Regions from separate parts of the Homo sapiens genome. Here region 2 is linked to region 1. Evidence: promoter capture Hi-C in human tissues and cell types (Jung and others, 2019). All regions are on one chromosome and are shown on one strand. Each heading gives the region's core, a stretch centred on a gene start or on the middle of the fragment in contact. The rest is flanking DNA. Distances are from core to core; before and after follow the strand shown.

Region 1 (3,968 bases), core at 942-3,441:
CACGGCTCCCTCCAAGCCAGTCCATCTGAGAGTGATCACAGCACCTGGGTAGGGGACTGGCATGGGCCCTCAGACCACAACACCCCACTCACCGTGGACCCGGTTGACACTGTGTCCCCAGCTACAACTGCCAGAACCAGCAGGAACCAGGCCCAGCAGGAACATTGCCATCTGCCATCCATCCTAGGAAGCAAGGCCACTGTCACCACCAGGCCAGCTCCGATCCTCTTCCAGATGACCAGGGTACGCTTTGGGAAGAGCCCTCGGGGCCCAGCCAGTGCCCAGGCCTCAAGGTTATCTGGGACTAGTTGGTCGTGGTTGTCTGGCAGACCCTGTTGGGAAGGATGAACCCCCCGCCTCAGTCTAGGCTTAGCAAGAAGGAGCTTGGTGAATGATTAGTAATGCCTGCTTCAGGCAAGACACCCAGCGGCGGTGTGCGTGCTAAGCCTGTGCCACCCTTGATCCAAGGGCATGCAGGGAAGCATGCCATGCTTTGCCTCCAAGTCCTCAAGCCCCCTAGAGAAGGGCTGTGGAGACAGCCAGCCTCGGCTGAGGGGGCTGGGGACCCAGGCGGGGGGAAAGGCTCTGGTTCGAAGGGATGGGCCTGGGCTCAGTCCAGCGCCTTGGCAGGAGCACCTTGGGATTTTAACTGGCTCAGCTCTTGCTGGCCTCGCAGGAGAATGGCCTCTGCCACTGGCTGCTAGGGTCAGTGCATGGGGATGGGCTTGGCCAGGTCCCGGGGGAATGTGCAGCCTCGCCCTAGACCAGCAGCTCCACAGTCAGCATCCAGCAACAGCCGGCACTCAGGTGAGGCAGAACCCAGGTACCTATGCCGCCTCCCGATCCCCGGAGAGAAGATGGAATTGGGGGAGGGGCAGGGCAGGAGGAGGTGCAGTTTGTGCCAGCATGTCAGCAGTCCAGGGCCACAAGGCTGACTTCCTCCCAACAGCCAGCACCCTTGGCTCAAAACACCTGCCAGGGGTCAAAGCAAGCCCATTGGAAGGGACTGTCCAGCCTCCAGGCCCTCAGCTCTCCCCACCCCCTCCTCAGCGTCGACCCTGCCCTGTGGAAGGGAAGACCAGAGATCCACCATGACCTCTGTCCAGGCCTTGCTCAGGTGCTGAGGGTCACTTGCCAGCGAGTTAGAGAAGGGATTTCAGAAACCACGCAGCCTGCACTCATAACCTGGAGCCCAGAGAGGGGAGCCAACCTGCTCAAAGCCACACAGCAAGGTAGCACACTAGCAAACTCAGGGACTCGACCCCCACGCCTGGCCAATTCCAGGGGAAGAAGGCATGGAGGTCACCCCTCACCCCTGCCAGGCCAGAGGCCAACTCGGGCTCTGCCCCTCCCTCCTCAGCAGCCTCCATCCAACTTGAAGAGTTTCCTTGCAGGCCCGGCACCTGCAGATTTTCAGGGGCCACTCCAAGGACACCACTGCAGCCCGGACGACGCAGCAGTGCACCCTGGAGTGGGGAGCCTGAGTCTGACCTCCCCTGCCCCCGCCGCCTGCCCCCCACCTCCCTCCCCTGCAGACCTCCATCTGCACTCTCAGCCTCACACCCACAGGAGCCCCCTCCACTGTGCCATTGGCTAACGGGTGCCCCAGCCTCTGCCTGCCGGCTGAAGACAGGTGCCAGCCGGCCTCACACTTGCTTTTTTCATTAAGGCTTCCAGACACCACTGGCTTCTGGCCAGGCCTCGCTCACGGGGATCCATCCCTCCCTGGGGTCCAAAAGCAGCGGCTGGCGGCAGCAGAGAGGTCTGCCGTGCACACAGAGCTCCGGGCGCACAAGGCTAGGTGCTGGGAGGCCACCCTGCCCCGTGCTCTGCGGCCCGACCCCTCCCCACAAGCCTCCCCACGTTATGTAACGGCTCCAGAGGGCGCGGGGTGCTCCTACCCCCAGCCCCACTCTGAGCAGTGGGCTGGCCTGGTGGACGCTGCAACGTGAGGGGGACGGGGACGAGGTGGCCTACCTGGCTTCGGGTCAGCAGGTTGTCCTCCCAGAGAAAGGGGCGAGCGCTGCGGAGGGCAGACGGCGCCAGGTGCGCTGTGCGTGCGGGGGCGGCGTGAGTGCAGAGGCTGCGGCCCGGCCTCCCTCTCCCCTTCCCCTCCTCCCCCGCGCCGCCTCCCTCTCCCACTTCAAAGAGCATCCAAGAGAGGGGGTTCCCGGGAGGGGCGCAGCCCAGTGGCGGCTCTGCGCCGGCGGCCGCCTTTATAGCTGTCAGGCAGACGGGGAGGAACACTCACACTTCCCACCAGGCCGCTCCCCCGCCCGCGCCGGCCGGCCTGGCGCACACTTTAACCCGCTCTGCGCCTCTGGAGCCCGGCCAGGCCGGCCCAGCTGCCTGTTGGCTGCTGCCGGCGGCGGCGGCCCAGGAGCGGCGAGCAGGGAGGCCTTCTTCCCGGGTCCAGAACTGGGGGCCACATGTCGGGTGTCCAGACGGAGCAGCCGCTGGCCTGAGGTTACCGGGGAGGCTGGCGGTGGCAAAGCCCCAGCCCCGCCTGTCCGGCTTCTGCCTCCAGAGCGGGCCCTGTCCCTGGGGCTCCTGAGAATGGGGTCTGGGATGTATGAGGTGTCCCGTCTGATGGCTCCGTTGTACGGAGGGAAAGGCTGAACTTCCGGGACGACCGTGCCCCAGGTCACGAGCCTCAGAAAGCTCCCGAGATGCAGGGGCCTAAGCAGGTGGAGGGACGCAGGGAGACCCAGCGAGAATGAACCAAGGGCTCCAGGGAGGAGACAGATGTGCCCGTGGCCTGCTGACCAGATGGCTAGAGCAGCCAGGGCCAGGGCAGAGAGGCTCAGGGATTCTGCAGATGTCCAGCACCAACTTGGCAGCCCCTGGCAGGCCAGGCCTGGAGCTCAAGCCTCTGTTCCTGCTGAGTCAGGGCACAGAGGGGAGCGAGAGTGGGTGGAGCAGCAGAGCCCCCCTGGGAAACTCCCGGCGGGCCCCAGACTTTGTGAGGCTTTCCTAAAGCAAGGCTGGGCACCTAGCCTCTGCACACCAGCTTCCCCAGAGCCCATCCTCGGCAAACAGAGGCACCTCCAAAAAGGGGAGGAGGAGGAAGCTGGGGCACCATTCCATCAGGTCATCTGTGTCTTTTCATCCATGCCCCTGCCTCCATGCAGCAGATGTCCTGGGCCCACAGCAGTGCCGGGAAGACACTTCTCCTTCCCTCTGTCCTCCCTGCTGGAAGAAACTTGTGAGTTCCTTCAGCTGCCTTCATGAGAAAGTTCTGCCCTGTGTCTGACCACCCACCAGAAAGGCTGGGAAGGAAAGCCACCAGTAATAGTAGTGAAAGCGATAATACCGTCTGCCCTCTGTCCAGCTTGTCCTACGGGCCCAGAGCTGTGAGGCCAGATCCACCTTTATGATCTGCATTTCACAGGTGGAAGAACTGAGGTTCGGGGACCAAGTCACCTCTCCAGTAGGCAAGGCTGGGATGCCAGCGCTCCTGAGTGTCGGGTTCTCTCCTCTGCCGGGTTGTTTAAGTTTCTCTCCCCGGGACCCTCGGGCAGGCAAGTCTTATTCATCTCATTCTCCTGCTGGGGCAACTGGGATGCAAGGTGGCTGCTCCTAGTCACAGGGCCACCTGCGGTGTGGAACCAGGACTAACCCTAACCCTAACCCAGGCCCACACTGCCCCCTGGGGTCGCTGTGCTGAATCACAGACATGGTGGCACCTGTCACCCAGCACACACACACACACACACACACACACACACACAGGCACACACACACCCAGTCCCTCTCACATGACCGGATTACACTCGCTCTGGGTGCCTCTGCCATCCCCTTCCTCTCTCTTCTGGTGACCGCCAGGCCTCGCACCCCTTGGCACAGTCCCCGAGCTCTCCTGGCGTTTGTGGCCTCACATCCAGCCAGCGCCAGGGTGACTAACGGTTTCCCTTGGGAGGGACCCCACAGCCGACCAACACAAACACCCCCAGTGTCTTCTCTTGGCT
Region 2 (3,968 bases), core at 923-3,422, 130 kb before region 1:
CCAAAAAAAAAAAAAAAAAAAAAACCAGAGTTGAACAACAATGGAAGGAAATCGGAAGCAGGGGCCCTCCCAAATATACGGGGCTCGCTTCTGGAAACAGCAAAGTCCACTCCTGGTTTTGATGTTTTCTATTCATCCCTTTTACTCACTCGAAGCCCGAGCCCTGCTGTCCAGGCCAGGTGCTGGGCTGGCTCTGGGGACCAGCGTAGTCCTAGTAGGCCAGCCCTATCTGCCTGGAGCCACGGTTGGGTGTGCATCATGCAGCCCCCCATTCTCCTCCAGGCCGCTGTGGACGCGTCCCCACCCTGCGGTTTCTGGGGCCCCAGCTTTCTCTACTGCTTCTTCCAGCAAAGTACCCATGTTTGGCCTGGAGGCCATCTGGAGGAACGGCCAAGTGGTGGGCCATGTCCGGAGGGCTGACTTTGGGTTCGCCATCGACAAGACCATCGCCTACGGTTACATCCATGACCCCAGCGGTGGGCCGGTGAGTCCCCTTCTCTGGCCCTGCTAAGGCAGATGCCGATCCCTCACCAGCTCCAAACCAGCTCCCTGCACTGCACCCTGAGTGTGCCGGGCATAGGGAGGAGGCACGGGTGTGGTCCAGAAGAGGAGGAGGGAAGAGAAAGGAGGGAGGAGGGAAGAGGGGGAGGAAGGAAGGAGGAGAAGGAGGGGGAAGGAAAAAGGGGAGAGAGGAAGGAGGAGGAGGAGGGAGAGGGAGGAGGGAGGGAGAAGGAGAAGGGGGAGGAAGAGGCCTCAGCAGGTGGAGGACTCCCCAGCTGTGCCTGGGCAGAGCCAAAGCTGCTCTCTGTTTTCTTTCTGGAAGAATCCGACTTTGGTGATTCCAGGCTTTTTTTGGTTAGAAGGAGGTGCCAGCCAGCCAGGCTGATACCTTCCAGCTCCTCACACCAGAGACCCAAACCTCAGGCCACCCACAGCCCACCCTTTGCCTGGGGTGCAGGGGTGGCCCCCAGGGTGACCGACTAGAGACTCAGAGACCCATGTTCCTATCCTCTCTTTCCTCACCCCCGACACCCCTGACCCCAGGCAACCCCACCCCCTCCAGGTGACCCTGACCCCTGGCTGCAGGAGGCAGGAACAGGCTGGAAAGAGCAGGCACTGCCCCCAGGAGCAAGTCCCAGGACAGCTCTGGGTGGCCAGGGGTGGTGGGGCAGGGGGTGGGCAGCCTCCCCAGAAGGGGAAGGGGTGGTCTCTACCTCCACCTCCTTTTCCCATCTTTCTGGCACTGCAAGTAGAGGTGCCGGTGAGGAGGGTCGTGTCTCTCCATGGGAGCCGATCTGACGTTTGGCCTAAGCCCTAAGTGAGGCCGGGAGGTGCTGGCCTGGCTCCAGAGCCTTCCAGCCTGAGCCCCTGATGGACACGTAGAGGGAATTGGGGAGGGAGCGAGCACTTGGGAGAAGCCATGAGGAGGGGTAGGCTGGAGACGGAGCAGCCTTAGCAAGAGCTGCAGAACATGCGCAGGCCCAGCTCGCAGGCCCAATGGGGAGGGGACACCGCCAGGCCTCGGGCAAGACCATGGTCCTGTGGAGCTGTGGGGAAGTGGCAGCCCATGGGGCTGAGTCCGGCGGTGGAGCTGGGAGGCTGGGGACACACTTGATGCCACTAGCCTTTGGATCTGCCTTTTACTTGCTTTGTGACCTTGGATAAGGATCCTCTCTTGGAGCCTCAGTTTCCTCATTTATAAAATGTGGACACTCACCTACCATGCAGGGCTGTCATACAGGCCACTGCACAGAGTGAGTCTTAATATGTGGGGATTGTGATGGCATGGCTCCCACGGTGGGCAGGGCCTCCTGACACAGCCCTGGGGCCATGGTCCTGGGGGCCACAGCCCTGGGGCCCAGCCAAACCGGAGTTTATGGGCTCCATGCCAGGGTGGGCTGGGGAGTGGAGGCTCCTTTGCCATTTCTTCAAAGAACAGTAATGCTCGCCTTTCTCCGGAGTCAGGGATGGGTCCATAACCAACGTGACCAGGGAAGCCGAGGTTCCGAGGTTAAACGGCATCCAGACAGGCAGCCGGGGAACCAGTCGATGCACCCAGAGCGGCCGGTGCACGTCTCCTGCCCCCTCCATCAGGGCTGTCCAGAGCATTTGCACCATGGAAATGGGCAAATGCTACAGTCACACCCACCTCACCCCAGAGCTGGTTGTTAAACATTTTCTAGCACCCAAGTGGGGTAACGGAGGTTTCTGCCTAAGATAGGGAAACCTGCTCATTGATGGGAAAGGCTCCGAGATGGGGAAGGCGTTTCTGCCTCGTAGGTATCTGTTAGCAAGGCCAGATGCCCGCTTTGAGTTGTGCATGCCCGTGGACATCTGAAGGCCACCAGCTCTCCATGCTGCCTGCCTGCGGGGGGCAGCTCAGAGCTCTCAGCCCTGCAGGTGCACACATGGCTCAGAAGCACCACTCCTAAAGCTCCTGTCGCAGAAAAAGCTTGGTTTGTTTTTTATTTTTTTCATCCAGTCCTGAGCTGCTAGGAACAAGAAGGAGCCCTCTGACTCCCAGAGCGGAGCCCGAGACTCCCTCCTGTGGCCCTGACCTTGGGTTTAATTGCTGTAAAGGAAGAACAGCTTCCCTGAGTGGCCTAGCCTGCCCTCCTCATAGCAGCTGCAGCAAAAGTGCCAGGCGTCACCAGCTGTGCCAGGCTGGAGGTGACACCCTCCTCCTGCCTAAGAGCACCTGCACCTGGGGCTGACTGGCTCCCGAGCGCTTGCTGGGGAGCCCGAGCCAGGGTGTGGGATGGGGAGCATGCAGAGGCCAAGCTGTCTAGAAGGCTGTTCCAGCCGCCCCTGCCCCGAGGGATTCGAGCCGGATTGGCCCCCAGCCTCGGCGCTGCTCTGGCCGCTGTGCTTGCCCGGGTCCGGGGAAGCCACCGTGTTGCTGCTGTTTCCCAGGCATCTGGAATTGCTGGGGTGGGAGGTGTGTTGTCCGGTGGAAGTCATATTGGCTGCCAGACCTTGGCTTTGCCGGACCCCAGATGCCCATGTCCAACTCAAGATCACATGGACACGAACTGCACCTGCTCTGGGGCAATGCCTGGGTTCAGAAAGGAGTCCCTGGCACAGGGATGAGTTTGCCCACAGGGCAGGTAGCAAGACCAAGACCCCCTCCTCCAGAGAAGCAGGCAGACGTGAGCCCTGTACCTACCAACAGAGAGTGATCCTCATCCCCACCTCTGCTCCTAGGTCTCGCTGGACTTTGTGAAGAGCGGGGACTATGCCCTGGAGAGAATGGGGGTGACCTATGGTGCCCAGGCTCACCTGAAGTCGCCCTTCGACCCCAACAACAAGAGGGTGAAGGGAATCTACTGAGGGCTCAGACCACATGCCCCATCCCATGCTGTCCATCCATTCTCACAGGTCCCAAATGGCCCTGGGTCCCAGGACCCTGGACCCAGCCAGAACTTGTGCCCTCCCTGTCCTTAGCCTAGGCCTAGTCCTGCGAAAACCCCCAAACCAGATACGGACAGAGACCAAGATGGCCCATCCTGTGGTCACTGACTGGAAGGCAGTCTCTAATCCACCCCAATCCTCCCAGAAAGCAAACCTGTAAGTGTCTTGGGCTCAGGGACCATGGCTTGTAGCCCTTTCCAAGCTTCTAGAAGGTGCTTAGTAAATACTTGATAAGCCCCACGTGAAAACAGCGAAGCAAATAGGCTTCATCTTTTACTCCAGGCTTGACTGATCGGTGGCGGGCTTCCCTGGGGCACTTGGCTGAAGAGCATGAGGCTGTGTCTGGGTCAGGAAAGAGAGGTGATCGACTGGCATTGTCTGCCACAGCGCACATGGAGGCCTGGGACCAAGGCCATTCTTCAGGATGGTGCCTCTCGGCTCTCAGGTCGGAACAGGAGCTGGAAAGCTCTTCTTACCTTGCTCGACCTCCCTGTTCTTCAGGTGGCAAAGCCTCCTGAGAGTCGGCAGCCCGGGAACACAGAGGAGCCGAAGCAGGG

The links. The method cuts DNA at HindIII sites, captures the fragments that hold promoters and counts their contacts. A contact is called where the count stands out against the background at its distance.
Region 2: a contact is called between a fragment that was not itself captured here and the fragment with the promoter of ADAMTSL2 in region 1, in 1 of the 25 tissues and cell types used here (H1 embryonic stem cells).

The regions. Positions count from the first base shown.
Region 1 is chr9:133,532,927-133,536,894 of GRCh38, reverse strand. It overlaps ADAMTSL2 (ADAMTS like 2), which reads right to left and starts at 2,191. Exons shown (of 19, transcript NM_014694.4): 1 at 1,978-2,191; 2 at 93-332. The coding sequence starts at 182. RefSeq lists enhancers at 1-80, 621-1,162, 1,703-2,244, 2,245-2,784, 2,785-3,326 and a silencer at 3,585-3,674. The HindIII fragment of the contact is 7,890 bases long and covers 1-3,968 here.
Region 2 is chr9:133,663,251-133,667,218 of GRCh38, reverse strand. It overlaps SARDH (sarcosine dehydrogenase), which reads left to right. Exons shown (of 21, transcript NM_001134707.2): 20 at 349-484; 21 at 3,205-3,659. The coding sequence ends at 3,330. Among named protein-coding and RNA genes, the nearest start is that of DBH-AS1, 7.8 kb to the right of the region's middle. The HindIII fragment of the contact is 7,104 bases long and covers 1-3,968 here.